Linked DNA regions of Homo sapiens: region 2 is linked to region 1. Evidence: promoter capture Hi-C in human tissues and cell types (Jung and others, 2019). All regions are on one chromosome and are shown on one strand. Each heading gives the region's core, a stretch centred on a gene start or on the middle of the fragment in contact. The rest is flanking DNA. Distances are from core to core; before and after follow the strand shown.

Region 1 (7,934 bases), core at 1,237-3,736:
TCCCATTGGCGGAGTGTCCCCTATCTGGCTGGAAATCTAAATTTGGATGATTTCAACAGCATTTTAAATGGAAAATGCAGCTAGATTTTTGGCTCCGAAACTTAAAGTGGTTTATTGATACCTGTATGAAAACTCAGGGCCACTCCCACTCAGTTCATAGCAACTTGGCCCCCCACCTACTCACCTCATGCCAGCAGGTGGCTCTGGGTATAGCTCCTTCAGTCTTACAGACTTTAAAGCCGGGAGGACCACGCTCCCCGATTCCTTGCCACTGTCTGCCAGGGCTGACCCTCGGTCCCTCCAGCAGGAAGACTCAGCCTTCGGTGGACGGGCCCACTCACCATTCCTACAGGCCGACAGGAGCCCATGTGGTCACTGTGGCTGTTCCAGCGGAAGAAGTCGGGGTAGTCGCCGTGCTCCAAGATGAACTGCTGGCCCCGGAAGTCGGGGTGATTGAAGCAGACCCAGGCTCCGCTCTCCACGTGGATGGAGTTCACTCGGTTCATAAAGCCCCGGTCCTGGAAGTTGTCACAGTCCCCGAAGACCTCCAGCTTCTGCCCTGTGAAGTGCTTGCCTTCATAGAGAGTGATCTAGAAAGGGCAGGTTACAGAGCTCAGGGTCAGGGGCTTCTCTCCGTCAGCGTTGGAGGCTGGCGTCTGGGTCCCAACACCCTGGATGGAACCCCTACTCCCAGGCCCCCAAAAGCCCAGACCTGCTGCACACAGTAGGTGCCCAACACTATTTGCCAATTGGGCAAAAGAACGAACAGCTGGCAGGCTGATGCCATACACAGCTACTGTTCCTCCCCACCCTTAGGAGCTCACAGTGGGGCAGACAAATTTCAGCAGCGATTTGGGGACAGGGGTTTCCCCTTTGTCTAGGTGCCCATTTCAAAATGGGCTGTTTTCAACTTCCACTGCATTTTTAACTCATTTTTTAATTATTAAAACATAAAGCCGATAATAACATTAAAGGAGGTGTTTTCAAAAGAAGAAATTTCACCCACAACCCTCTCATGGTAACCCAGCATATATTTTGCAGAAATTCGGGTTCCTGGGATTGGGCCTCCTTCACTGGAGAGGCTGAATGGGCCGAAGCCGCGTCAGGGCCTGGCTCGGGATTAATGTTCGCAAAAGAGGGCTTATAAGTGCCACCCTGTCTCTCTGTGTTTTGTAGGTCACTCCTTTGGGTAGCAGGCATGTATCAGATCTGGAGCTCCATCACCCTGCTGGGAGTTCAGACATCGTGTCTTATAGCTACGTGGCACTCACAGGTTGTCCTTGTCCCGAAACAAAACAAAGTGAAGCAATAACAACCCGCCAGACTCATTTCCTGCTGTGGAACCTAAAATCTCAACCATTTAGTAACTCTTTGGGTTTCAAGAACTGTGGCCCTAGAAGGGTCCTGCCAGAGTGCAGTGATGTTCCCCATCACTATGGTCGCTTGTGCCTCACCAGTGTCTCCAGTTCGCTCAAAAGAACACGAGAATTGCCCTTCCAGGCCCCTTGGAGTCAGGCGTGGCCACATGCGTTCACCGGAAAGGAGGCAGACACCTTGGCGTTCTGCACCCCAGAGTTACTGGGGCCCTTTGTTACTGAAGCATCACCTGGCCCATGCAGACTGATACAGCAACACAGTCACCCCCAGACACTCTGGAATGTGGCCTTGGAGACCAAAGGCTTCATGGGAGTGGCTAGGCTAGGGGCACTGGAGAGGGCGAGGGAGAGCCAGGTCTCCCGTCCTTCCTGCACCAGGCACGGCTGGTAGAGGGCCCCTGAAACCTTCAGGGAGGTCTGGGCACCAAAGGGATTCGGGGCTCCCTCAAATCTCAACATTTTTCAGAGAACCAGCCCTAAGTGTCCCTGAAGAGACCCTGGGAAGGAAAAGCCATAGAGGCCAGCCTTGGGCAAAGAAGCCGCAGCAGTGGGGCGGAGGGCTGTGGGACAAGCCAAGCCTCCCCCACCCCAAGGAAGCCCCAGGGAGTCTGAACACCCTCCCTGCTCCTGACTGCAGGGCGAGGGGTTGGAATCCCAGAAGGAAGGAGTGGAGATGGAGACCTTCCTATCCATCCACACCAGAGAGGCCCCAGGCCAGTAGCGAGGCCACCCCATTTTATTAAGAAATTAAACCAGCTTCCCTTGGATTTGTCACCATCAACAGTGTGCACCCTCCTGCATCCCCTAGCACAGGGGGCGAAGGCGGAGCCCCACTCGGTTTCCTTGGGGTTGAGGGACGCACTCACCTTCCCCGAGCGCTGCGCCATGGTGCGCCCCGCCCCTTCCGCGGGTCCCCGTTTACACCGGGCAGCGCCCTGCTGGCTCAGCGCCGCCCCGGACAAAAGATTTGCTGGGCCGGCCCCGGAGCGTTAGTGCTGTCGGGCGTGCTAAGCCCGAGGGGCCACCAGGCGGTTGGGACCCGCCGCGGCCACCCTGTGCCACCGCGAGTGCAGCCCGCCCTGCCCGGGGTCTCCCTGTGCTCTCCGCGTTTAGCTCCCGAGCCTCCTTCCTCCCTGAGCCCTCCCGCCCAGCCCGCGGCTGCCCCTGCCCTGCCCTGGAGTGGTGGGGGGAGGAGGGGAGGTGTCTCTCTAGCCCTCCAACCTTTCTTCCCCTGCGCTGCCCCTCAGCCCTCACGCCCATCTCCCTCCCTCCCAAGGCCTGTTCCGAGCTCCCCAGCCCACTCCCCTTTCTCACCTGGCTGCAGGTAGTCTCGCCTTGGTGCCAACTTGTTTGTCTCCACGAGGATGCAACCCAAGCTTCCCCGGACAGACAGACAGCCCTTGACCGCCCCTCCCCTGGCTGCTCTGGTCTGAGCTCCCAGGTCCCCACCTTAGACCTCCGGCTCCAACTCACCCAGCTCCTGATGCACCCCCCCACACCCCACAAAACGCCAGGCCAGGTCAGGCCTCCCTCCTCCCGCTCTCTTCCTGCCTGCCTCCCTCCCTGGCACTCTCCCTCCCTGGGTCCCTCTCTCCTTGAAGATCCTGCCTAGGGTGACCAGGTGACCCGCGCTGCCCTGAGCTGGGGGTACAGTGCTCTGCCCCTTGCCTCTCTGCTGCACCAACTAAGCCACCCTGGACGCCCAGGATCAGTTTACAGCACAAAGCAGCCCCACCGCGGAGGGAGAGTTCCCCAGGGCCCAGAACGAGCACTTGGCAGACAGCAGAGGCTCAGAGATTGTGGAGTGAGCAGAGCGAACATGGAGCCCACAGGATGTGCAGCCCCCACACGGCTGGGGAGATGAGCTGGGAACACAGGACTCATGACTCAGATGGCTGGGGTGGTGGGGGACAGGCTCTGAGATCAAAGGAGAGAGGGGCAGGTGCTCCACAGGGGCTTCTGCTGGAGGGGAGGGAGGAGCTTTGGGGAGGAGTTTGGGCTGCTCTTCCTTCAAACAGTATATTTTTATGACCATTTCACAGATGAGACACTGAGGCCCAGGAAGAGGAGGTTATGTGATTCTTGGGGCAGAGGGGTGACCTTGCCTCTGCTGTGGGAGGTTTTCAAAAGTAGACAGGGTACAAACCAGAACCTGCATGTCACCCTTGAACCCAGGGACGGTCCTCCCTAGGGACGCCCCTCCCTAGGGACGCCGCCCAGCTGCCTCCACTGGCGCCCTTACTTGCCAAGCCACACATTCCAATGTTTCTCTCTGGACCTGGGCCCTGGTGGGGACATAAAATTAAAAACAAAATCTCCAGCCAACCCAGAAAACTTCTCCACGAAGGTAGAAGGAAAAAAAAACAATTTTATTATTGAATAAACTTTAAACTGGAATGCGATCTGCATCACGATCTCTCCCCTAAGAGATCGCAAAGATGGAGAGAGATCTCACTCTTCTGTAGCCAAGCAGACACAACCCACTGCATTCATGTTTTCAGGATAAAATTGCTGATTTTCTTGTATCTCTATGACTGGAGGTGGGTTTTGCAATTTGGAGTCAGGTGACAGCTGAAGTCAGGCTTCTTAGGAAACGGGGAGGGTGGGGGCACTTACTCCTTGATGTCAAGACTCAAAGAGGCTCCCAGAGGAAACATGACTGAGTTGTTAGACTGGCAAGAGGCTTGTTTAGCCATTAAAAAGATTTACACACATTTGAAAATGACAGAGAAGGAAATTCTGCAAGAAAAGGGAGGAAAGGGAAGCCTCTTCCCTTATTTTCAACAGGGAAAAATAAGCCTTAAAAAAAGGTTTTATTTTTTAGAGCAGCTTTAGGTTCAAGTTGAATTCAGCAAAAGGTACAGCAATTTCCTGTATACCCCCTGCCCCTACACACACACACACACACACACACACACACACACACACACACACAGAGCCTCCTCCACAATCAGCGCCCCCATTAGAGTGGTACATTTGTCACAGCCGATGAACCTATGTTATACATCGGGATACAGGATGAGAAGTTGAGAGAATGCGGCGTAGACTTTGTTAAAATAACACATTTTTAAAGCCTCCCCACATAATGTGGTTGATTTTTCACAGCTTGCTACTCTTTGTCCAGTTGAGTATGTAAGTGTTTGACTCTTAACTTTTTCTTTGGGTCTTCATCTCCTTATAAGGGCTCCCATGCCACATAAAACTTGTATTAAATAAGTTTGTATGCTTTTCTCTTGTTAATCTGTCTTAGGTCAATTTATTTCTCAGGCCCAGCCAGGACCCTAAGAGGATGGAGGTAGAACTTTGCTGCCTCTACAGTGTAATGCCATGGTTCCACCATTAGAGCACCAGGTAGAGTATTCTCACCACCTTAAAAGTCCCCTGTGTGGGCTGGGCACGGCGGCTCACACCTGTAATCCCAGCACTTTGGGAGGCCGGGGCGGGTGGATCACCTAAGGTCAGGAGTTTGAGACCAGCCTGGCCAACAGGGCGAAACCCTGTCTCTACTAAAAATACAAAAACTAGCCAGGCGTGGTGGCAGGCGCCTGTAATCCTAGCTACTCAGGAGGCTGAGGCAGTGAGAATTGCTTGAACCTGGAAGGTGGAGGTTGTAGTGAGCCAAGATTGCGCCACTGCACTCCAGCCTGGACGACAGAGTTAAACTCCGTCTCAAAAAAAAAAAAAAAAAGATAAAAAAAAAAGTCCCCTGGGCTCCATCTGTTTATCCCTCTCTCCCCCTTAACTCCTGGCAACCACTGATCTTTTTACTATCTTCACGGTTTTGCCTTTTTCAGGATGTCATGTATTTGGAATCTTACAGTATGTAGCTACTACGGTTTGAACGTGTCCCCCAAAACACATGTGTTGGAAACTTAATCCCCAATGCAACAATGTTGAAAGATGCGGTCTCATGGGAAGGGTTTAGGTCATGAGGGCTTCACCCTCATTCATGGATTAACGCTGACCATAAAGGGCTACAAGGTCAACCGCTTGCTCTCTCTCACCCTCTCTTTGCCCTTCTCCCATGGGATGATACAGCAAGAAGGCCCTTGAAAGATGCCAGCACCGTGATGTTAGACTTCTCAGCCTCCAGAACTGTGAGCCAGTACATTTGTGTTCATTGTAAATTACCCAGTCTGTGGTATTCTGTTATAGCGGCACAAAACGGACTAAGACAGCAAGTAGCTTTCTCAGATTGGTTTCTTCCACTTAGTAATATGCATTTAAGATTCCCTCATATCTTTTCCTGGCCTAGTCTCTCATTTCTTTTTACTGCTGAATCATGTTCCCTTGTCTGGAAGTACCACAGTTTAGTTATCTATTCATCAATGGAAGGACATTTTGGTTGTGTCCAAGTTTTGGCAATTATGAGGAAAGCTTCTATAAACAACCACGTGTAGATTTTTGTGTGCTCCTTTCACTATACACTAAGGAGTGGGATTGCTGGATCATATGTTACAGGTATGTTTAGTTGTGCAACAAACTGAAAAAAAAATAAAAGCCAGGTGCAGAGGCTTGTACCTGTAATCCCAGCTACTCAGGAGGCTAAGGCAGGAGGATTACTTGAGGCCGGGAGTTCAAGACCAGCTTGGACAACATAGCAAGACCCTGTCTCTAAAAAATTCAAAATCAAATCAAATAAAAAGAAACTGTCAAACTCTCTTTCAAAGTGGCTATATGATTTTTCATTCTGACCATTTGGTGCTATCAAGTTTTGGATTTTAGCCATTCAAATAAGTGTGCAGTGGTGTCTCATTGTTGTTTTAAGAGCTTTTTTTTTTTTTTTTTTTTGAGATGGAGTCTTGCTCTGTCCCCCAGGCAGGAGTGCAGTGATGCGATCTCAGCTCACTGCAATCTCTGCCTCCTAGGTTCAAGCAATTCTCCTGCCTCAGCCTCCCCAGTAGCTGGGACTACAGGTGTGTGCCACCACGCCCAGCTAATTTTTTTTTTTTTTTTTTTTTTTTTTTGGAGATGGAGTCTTGTTCTGTTGCCCAGGCTGGAGTGCAGTGGCGTGATCTCAACTCACTGCAACATCCACCTCCTGGGTTCAAGCGATTCTCCTGCTTCAGCCTCCCGAGTAGCTGGGACTACAGGCACACGCCGCCAAGCCTGGCTAGTTTTTTGTATTTTAGTAGAGATGGGGTTTCACCATGTTGCCCAGGCTGATATCAAACTCCTGAGCTCAGGCAATCCGCCTGCCTTGGCCTCCCAAAGTGCTAGGATTACAGGCGTGAGCCACCGCGCCTGGCCAATTTTTGTATTTTTAGTAGAGATGGGGCTTCACCACGTTGGCCAGGCTGGTCTTGAATGCCTGACCTCAAGTGATCCGCCTGCCTTGGCCTCCCAAAGTGCTGGGATTACAGGTGTGAGCCACTGTGCCCAGCTGAACTTCTTCTTTTTAATTTGTATTTGCCCTCATCACAGCAGGGCCAGAGCACACAGACAACCCAAAAAGGTGATGACAACAGAATCCAAAACAGAAGCAGTGATTTGGGGTGTTTTCTGAGAAATATATATGAAAAAATGCCTAGCTGAAAGCCCCACGCAAAGAATTATTAAAAATGGGTAGATGAATAAGATACCTGCAAATTTCACCTCCATTCCCTATTTCTAATGCAATATCTCAATTCCCACCTGGGATTTTATTATAATTCAGTTACCAGAGGAGGAGTCTGCTAAGATTCATATTATCTATTTGTGGCCAGGTAGAACCCCTCCCCAAAATAGCTACATAATATGCAAATGCCAGTATCACCAAACCTCAACATCAGAGTCATTTTTTTGAGTCATCTTTGGTAGAGCACTGTTAAAATGTACCTTGAGGTAGGTGAGATCTTGAGTCACTATACAGCTGCTAGTTGGGGACAAAATTCTAAGGAAATGGACTGAGAATAAATATCGTGACAGCACAGAAGAAGCAAGGCTAAGAATGCTATCATGGCTTAAAAAATAAAATCTCAATAACATGTAGCCTTAGAACTACCAGTAGCTGCTCAGCATTGGAGAGTTTTACAGCGTGGAGGCTAATGGTTTTAATAATAAATCACCCTGAGCCATCACCCGTTTGCCTGCCTCCCTTCTCTGCCTCTTGTCTCTCCCGTTTTTGGGTAATTTAGAGCACAGAGAAGAATAGGAAATAATATAAGGAACAATAACACCACCATACAAAGTTTGTCAAATCTTAGCATTTTGCCAGGTTTATGTCGGATCAATGTTTTTCCTTAAAATAAGAAATCATTATACATAGAATTGAAGGCTTCCTTCCCCATAAGGATAAGATACTGTCCTGATTTTTGTGTTATGTCTTTGTGTGTTTTCATCTTTTTACTTTCTTTGTATGTATCTGTAAATAATAGAAAATTTTTAGTGTGGCTACATTATATGTAGCCTTCTGCAATTTGGTTTTTTGTTTTAGTGACAAGAGTTTCTGAAATGGTGAATGAACAAAGCTCAGTAGAATTCCTCAGAAAACTAAGTAAAATCTTCCATTTATATATCTAATAAATTGCATACCAGGAAATCTTCAGTATATATTAAAGCCACACAAAAAATACTATG
Region 2 (7,934 bases), core at 2,938-5,437, 46 kb after region 1:
GAGGCACAGAAAGACTTCTTCACCCTTTTATGTAAAGAGATGGGATCTCGCTGTGTTGCCCAGGCTGGACTGCAGTGGTGCTATCACAGCTCACTGCAACCTCAAACTCCTGGGCTCAAGTGATCCTTCCACCTCCCACAGTGTTGGGATTAAGGGCATGAGCCACCATGCCCAGCCCTCATTCGCTTCCTTAAGGTTACTGGGTTAGCAACAAAAACCAAGATTCAAATCCAGGCAAGTGTAACCCCAGGGCCCACACTCCAAACAGTTATGAAATACTGGTTCCCTGAATTGCCTGATACAAAACGTGTTTCCACAGTAACATTACATGAAAGTGATTTATCAATTTACATTCTCATCACCAGTTTTCAGGAGCTTAAAGGAGATTCCAAATAAGGATACAAAAGCAAACTGAAGTCTTGATAGTGTCAGAGTCCCACAATAAACAGAACAGCTGTATTTCTTTGCCCAGGACATTCTAAGTTACACTGTTGTCCCAACATAATTATTATTAGCACCCCCAGCCCACAACTCTGAAAGTGTCTTGGTTTAGGCAATAAATTATATAGTCAACTATAAAAGAAAGATACAAAACCCAACAATCCAAAACAATTTCCTACTCAAGCGGCTCTTCCCTTCCCTACTAATTTCTAATGAGCCTCGTCATCTGTGCCATGCCCCCGACCCCCTAACAGAGACTTCTACTGCTCCCCTGGTCCATATAAGCCCCAACTCCTATTCTTCTGTCAAGAGGACAGGTATCAGGGGGTGAAAGCCTAGGATGGCTCTGCTCTAATGAAAGCATCAAGAATCTGACTGCTAAAGCACACTGCATCACCACCAGCAGGGAGTGTGTAGGGTGAGTGAAGGAGGCACATGCTATAGCTCTGTGTACAAGCTCAAAGAGCCAAACACATTTATTTTCTTCCAAGCTTCCAAAATGGAAACCTCAGGGTTCCTCCAATGCTAACATCACTCAATACAGCTATCTTCTTGCTTCACTAAGGCATCACACTTTCCTTCTATGTTTACTTCAAAATGCAAAGCAGAGGGAATTCATTCCAAACCCACAGGACAGGTCATATTATTCTGGGTCTACTCCAATTTCCCCAGATTCCAGAAAAATAGCCCCCATTTAACACAGCAAACCAGATCACACTACACTCACCCTCCTGCTACTCTTATCCTTTGATTATAAGTTGCAAGGGCGGGCCAGGCATGGTGGCTCATGCCTGTCATCCTAGCACTTTCAGAGGCCGAGGCAGGTGAATCACCTGAGGTCAGGAGTTCAAGACCAGCCAGGCCAATATGGCGAAACCCCGCCTCTACTAAAAATACAAAATTAGCCGGGTGTGGTGGTGTGCCTGTAATCCCGGCTACTTGGGAGGCTGTGCCAGGAGAATTGCTTTAACTCAGGAGGCACAGGTTGTAGTGGGATAGCACCACTGCCTTCCAGCCTGGGTGACAGAGCAAGACTCTGTCTCAAAAAAATGTTGCAAGGGCAGGAGTTAGGAGCTGAAATCCCAGCTTCTTTACATTCCTCACCCTCCAGTGAAGAAGGGTAAATTCAGTCTTACAGAATAGTTTCTAGTAAAAGCAGGCCTGGATGTCATGGTAATGGGGCAGCTAAGCTGTCAAAAGGGCTTTTCTTTGTTTCATGTACTCCTTTCCCCCTTGCTTCCAGCCAATTCCCTGGTGATCCATTCCACACATCCCTGCTACATTAACCGACATGTGAATATCCTTTCTGGGGGGATTATTTGACTTTTGGCCATTATCTACTGTCTATCAAATAAATTGAAACTCCCTAATCTAGTAATCACTCTCAAATCCACCCACCCAGAGACTCTACTATATAAACTAAAGCCAACACTCAAACCAGAGCCTGGACTCCAGTCAAACTGGTATTTTATGGCCCAGGTCCTCATAAGATTAAATCAGCTAATTTCTGCCCTATGCCCCTCTTATGCCTTTCCTCTAGAAAAGATGTACTTTTGCCCTAATGTAGGAGAACACATATCACAAAGAGAAAGAAAGCAACTAATATGACTCTCTAATATAGAATTAAAGTTTAGAAAATAGAAAACCACTATCCTGTAATAAGTATTAACCCTTACAATGTTAATATATTTAAAGCAATTCTAAAGCAGAAAAACAAGTTATTAAAAGATAACTGCCAGAAATGTCTTAGAAAAGACCAAGTAGACAGCATACTAACATTTAGTTATCTGTGTAAGCTCCTTGACTTATGATGGGGTTACATCGTGATAAACCTACTGTAAACCAAAAATATCATGAGTTGAAAATGTATCAAATACCTCAATAGACCCATCGTAAAGATGAGAAATTGTTAAGTCGAGCCACTGCAAGCCAAACCATTGGGAGTCAGGGACTGTCTGCACACAACCTGAGGGGTTTTCTTGGCATAGCTGGTACTTTTAAAAATCAGTGCTAGGACCAAGACTGTCAGATATGCTGTATAAGATTCTGAGATACCAGAGGTCACTTACTTGCCCGGCTGTGTCTACAAGTTGAAGATGATATTCTTGTCCATTTACTGTGATCAACTTTGTAAAAGCTACAGGGAAAAAGGAAATTAAACATTAGTTTAAAAAAATTAACTCGAAACCACCTGAAGTTTGAACAATGACAACCAATCAAGCACAGAGTCCCTAGCAGTCTCAGAGAAAGGCCCCATGAAACAAAAAAGAACAACTCTCTGACTTGTATAGATTCTCCCCTACTTCCATTATTTAGCTAGGAAATACGGTGACTGGCTAAAATCAAGCTTGGTAAACCTTGATTCTTTTTCAAAGAGACAAAGTACGCAACAATTCATATCCTATAATAGTAATTTGAATGCTGTGTGGCAAATCCTTCCTCTTGTGAAAAAGTGAAATATACTACGTAAAGTCTGAGGTCTAGAATAAACCAAAACCACAAAAATTTTCCATTAATTTATAGGAAGTCTGGCATCAGAGCACAAAGAGCTAATATTAGTTAAGTGCTAAGAACTTTTAGTACATAAAAGAAGTAACAGTTTTACTGACGGATAAAACAGCAATGAAACAGATGTTCTGTGTTGAAGCCATCCTTCCCACTTAAGCTTAAGGATCCAAGCAATTTGTCACAACTTCTTTTCCCTGACAAGGGAGGAAAGAAAATCAGACTTGAATAACTTCCGGAAAAGTCAATTCAGAATTAGAGGGAGACAGACTTCAAACAAATATAGACAAAAGAGGAAAGAACTACTAACAGAAACAATGTAAAAATAACCACCTGGAACTCTGACAAGGAAGTGGAACAGATTTATCTTGCATACCCGCCCCAGCCATCTTGACTCACCATGAGTCCTCCAATCTCCTGATTGGCCGTCCTATATGACTAGAGCCAGGCAGCAGAATCTATCCCTCATACAACTGAGAGAGGTCCCACTCTACCCACAGCAGAAAGGCAAAGCTGACACAGACAAATGGAAATTATGTGAGAAAACTCTAAGTAATAAGGAGGATTGATCAGAGATCTTATCTGAGTTATATGAGTTCCACAGGGAAAGAAATGATGGCTGAAAGACAAGCAATCATCACAGAGAACCATATTAGCGTCACACTTTTCTAATACAAGCAGGGGGGCCAAAAGTCAGGTGAGTAAAGATAACAGACCACAGCATGAAATCAATGGCCACACTATATTATGCTTGTACCTGTTCCGGAAGTTATCACTTTTAGGAAACAGTTAAATCAGATGGAAACTGAATCGGAATATTTCAAGCTGGGGGGATACCCAATATAACCTATTTCATCAATTCTAAGAAAGAATTCAGATTTGTTTTTACACCTTATTCTCTCTGAACTTGGGATGCATCCTGCACCGCTGGAGGTTTCAGTCCTTGTCAGCCAGGGTGCAGTCACTACATAGCTGTGTGAAAACCTTCAGTCACGTGAGATTGAAGTGTATTTCAGATTTGATGAGAAGTATGTAAGAAACACTGGTGAGCAATAAAACCAGTGACCTTCAATTAGAACTAAGTAACTGCAGTTATCAAGTATAATTATGATGACAAGGTTACTGAAAGGAAACATCATTCATTCATTCATTCATTCAAGAACAATTTCTTGAGTGCCTATTATCACCAGTAGCACTGTTGTGGGTGCTTGGGATGCTGTAGTCTCTGATACTCAGTGAGCTTAGATCCCAGGGAAGGAAAGAAGGTATAGACACACACATGTACCCTCCCACCCTGTCGGGTATCTTCCCTGGGAGTGGAACACCCAGGCAGAGGTTAAACAGCAAGTGAAAAAAGCAAAAAAGTCAATGCAGCTAAAGCTCAGAGAGAACGGTAGATAGCTAACTAGGATGGACAGGAGGCAGAAGGTCCTACAGAACTTGGGATTTTTACTCTGAATGTGAGGAGAAACCAAGGAAAGATCACTCTGGCTACGCTGTAAGTAACAAAAATGGTCCCAGGGATATTAGGCAGGAGCCCATGATACAGTGACCACATGACTGTACAGACTATCACAATCTATAGAGGGTGACACTGGCCTGGATTAGAGGTGGAGATATTCTGGAAATATTTCAGAGGCAGAACCAAAAGGATTTTCTGATTGACTGGAAGTGGGATGTAAGAAAATGAAGAGTCAGGATGACTCCAAAGCTTCTGTAAGTTGCCACTTACAGGAAAGACTAGGGGAAGAATACTAGGGATAGGAGAGGAAGGGAAATGAGTTGGGTTTTAGGGATGTTTTGGGATGCCTATTAAATACCAAGGGGAAATGCAGGCAGTTAAATAAAAAAGCCCAGGATGTAGTGGCTTATGCCTGTAATCCCACTTTGGGAGGCCCAGGCAGGAGGACTGCTTGAGGCCTGGAGTTCAAGACCACCCTGGGCAACACAGGGAGACCCAATCTCCACAAAAATGGAAAAACTGCTCCAGCGTGGTGGCTCACGCCTGTAGTCCTAGCTACTTGTGAGGCTGAGGAAAGATCATTTTAAGCCCAGGTATTCAAGGTTACAGTGAGCTATGATCATGCCACTGCACTCCTGCCTGAAGGACAGAGTGAAAGACCTTGTCATGTAGAATAAAATAAATTATAAAATAAAGCCCAGAGCTGGGGGGAGAGGTTGCGGCTGAGAATACACACTGGTGAGTCAATAGCAAATTGAAGAGAGGGGAAGATTACTTGAGAGCAAGTGCAGAGGAAAGGCCTGAACCAGGGCACCCCATGTTGCCAAGTCAAAAAAATGCAGAAGATTCGGCCAAGAAGACTGAGATGTCATTGTACATAGTGTATAAAAGAAAAAAAAAAAAATAAACATTTGCATCTATCTTTGCATGTAAAAAGAATGTAACTTGTCCTACTTGTAGCAGTAAAATGAAAAAGACCTTCCATCTTGCTGTCATAGGAAAACTGCCAGTTTTTTACTATAGAAAAAAGGGAGGTATAATAAGAGATAGGATAGACTCGGAAATAATTCTACTGTCTCTCATTTTAACCTCATGTCAAAGTGGAAAGCTGGCTTTCTTCTGACATCACTCTCCTTGAGCCCCTTTCTCCCTGCCTCTTTGAATCACCAGAGAATCCATTTCCAACCTAAACCCCTGAAATTCTCCTAAGTAGACTAATAGCTATTTACTAGTAAATGCTACTAACCACGGTCATAGAGGTTTCCAAAATTTGGTGTTCACAAAGCAAGATTTGTGTTACTAAAGTGTGGTGAGGGCTCTTCATTCATACCCTACTGAGAAGTCCACACCCAGGACGCAGTGCCTTGAGAATGCTGCAACACCTAAGTGCAACCTCCCAACTTTCTGGAAGGCGCTTTGTCATTCACTAACAGTGCTACCTTGAGATGGCAGAAGTCGGAAATTGCTGCTATGCTTGCTTTTTAGTTATAAACTACCACTAGCTTAATTTCAGCCTATCAATTTAGTTTGTATTGAGTTGTTAGATTAACACTACAGTAGATAATGAAGTACACTTGCATAAGTAGTACTTCTGCTTTAAAATTTCCCCAAACTAGAAAATATGTGGTTTTATTAATATTATTCTCCTACACCCCTACTGTTAAAGATGACACAGTCCCAGAATTTTTGCTCACCATGACACTTCACTGAAATGTGTCACCACTGAGTGTTTGCTATAACAGCTTGTTCTAATATTATAAAGTGTAAAATAACTACTAAATTATTTCCAGATCTACAGAGCAGTTTTTTAAAATCATGAAACCACCCACTTATTTATCTTGCTAGCAACAAGTTCATGATAACCTTTTCTTTTCTTTCTAATTCATTGTTATCACTGAACAATGTTTTTCTACCAAACAGTGGAGGAAAGGGTGGGCGAAGGGCTCCTGCCCTGTGTTAGGTTATCAGAAGTGTGGTAAGTAGAATATAATGTCTGAACATGCCTCACGAACTTTTAATGGATACATATTCATATTTATTTCTGCTCCTGCCTACAGACTTTAATAAACAAGTACTCTGAATTCATTTTTGAGGTAAAGAAGTCTTCATTATTGAACTGTAAGATGAGAAAAAATTTAAAATATGACCAAAGATGATGTTGATAGCCTCAAAAAAGTAGGGTCATATTACTCTGTTTCTGAGATAACATCAAGTTACATAAGTTGGACTTTCTTCTGATCCATTACTTACTAAGAAAATGTATGTATATATAGCTCCATGATACACAACTCCATGACTTTCCTTCCAACTCAGTTTTTACTTTTGAGACCACATCTTGCTCTGCTGCCCAGGCTGGAGTACAGTGACATGATTACAGATCACTGCAGCCTCAAACTCCTGGGTTCAAGTGATCCGCCTGTCTCAGCTGAGACTACAGGCACACACCATCACGCCCAGCTAATTCCAGCTCAGTATGAAATGGCATGAGGATACAGCCACAATATCCACTTTTAGAGGCAGAGCTTACGAAGAAAACAATCTTCTATTGTTCTGTTAATACAATTCCAAAATGAACCTTATTATTTCAAGGATCTAAAATCCTAAATTGCTTTGTATAGCAAATATTAAGGTCCAAGATGATGATTTTCTTATGTTCTTATTCCAGTGGACAGAAAACCGAGCTTGTTCATCCAGCACTCACATTAATCTGCTCCTCACACTTGCTTACTATTATATAATGACCAGCTAGACAAATCATAGGATGTAATCAGGACTCCTCCCTGTAGATACCCAGAGGTTACTTTCAAATATAACATCTTGAAAGGTTACTTTCAAAAATATTCCTGGAGTTAGTTTATCAACCAACAGGTTTCCTTCTCTGCTACCAGCACACTGGAACACAAAGGACAGCCAAATATTTTAAGCGAGGGGTGAGCAAACTTTTTCTGTAAAGGGCCAGACAGTACCAGTAAATATTTTAGGCTTTGTAGGCCACCTGGTCTCTGCTCTTACTATTCAACAACTCTGCCATTGTACAGCATGTAAAGGACAACATGTAAAGGAACAAGCATGGCTGTGTATCAATAAAACTTTATAGAGGTTAACATTTGAATTTCATATAATTTTCACATGCCAGACATTATTCTTCTTTGGACTTTTATATATTATGCTTAAATGGAAAAACCTTTCTTAGCTCTTGGTCTGTATAAAGACAGGAAATGGGCCTTGCTGGCCTGCAGGCTGTCGTTTGCCAAGCTCTTTACTGTCAGCCAAAGCATTCAAGTGATTCTCTTGCAAGCCTCCGGCCGGTGAAATATGCTTCGTGTCTAATATGCCAATCAGGTGTTGATGAATCCCATGTTTAAATCTACATGTTCCTGGTGACAAATCCTAGATAAGTCCTGGTCTCAAGAATCTGAGAAACCTAGTTCCAGGGCCCACCTGGGGTTCTAAGCCTGAAAAGACCAGCTTCCCTGCTTCAGATTATCCTTGGCGATCCCTAGAATCAAGATCTGTCTCAAAGCTG

The links. Contacts are between HindIII fragments. The study calls those that stand out against the background at their distance.
Region 2: a contact is called between a fragment that was not itself captured here and the fragment with the promoter of CRYGN in region 1, in 1 of the 25 tissues and cell types used here (dorsolateral prefrontal cortex).

What each region holds. Positions count from the first base shown.
Region 1 is chr7:151,437,655-151,445,588 of GRCh38, forward strand. CRYGN (crystallin gamma N) reads right to left here and starts at 2,487. Exons shown (of 4, transcript NM_144727.3): 1 at 2,243-2,487; 2 at 342-590. The coding sequence starts at 2,263. RefSeq lists enhancers at 55-904, 1,266-1,766, 1,767-2,267, 2,979-3,515. The HindIII fragment of the contact is 10,973 bases long and covers 1-7,934 here.
Region 2 is chr7:151,482,227-151,490,160 of GRCh38, forward strand. RHEB (Ras homolog, mTORC1 binding) reads right to left here. Exons shown (of 8, transcript NM_005614.4): 3 at 2,511-2,578. Among named protein-coding and RNA genes, the nearest start is that of RHEB, 34 kb to the right of the region's middle. The HindIII fragment of the contact is 4,655 bases long and covers 1,861-6,515 here.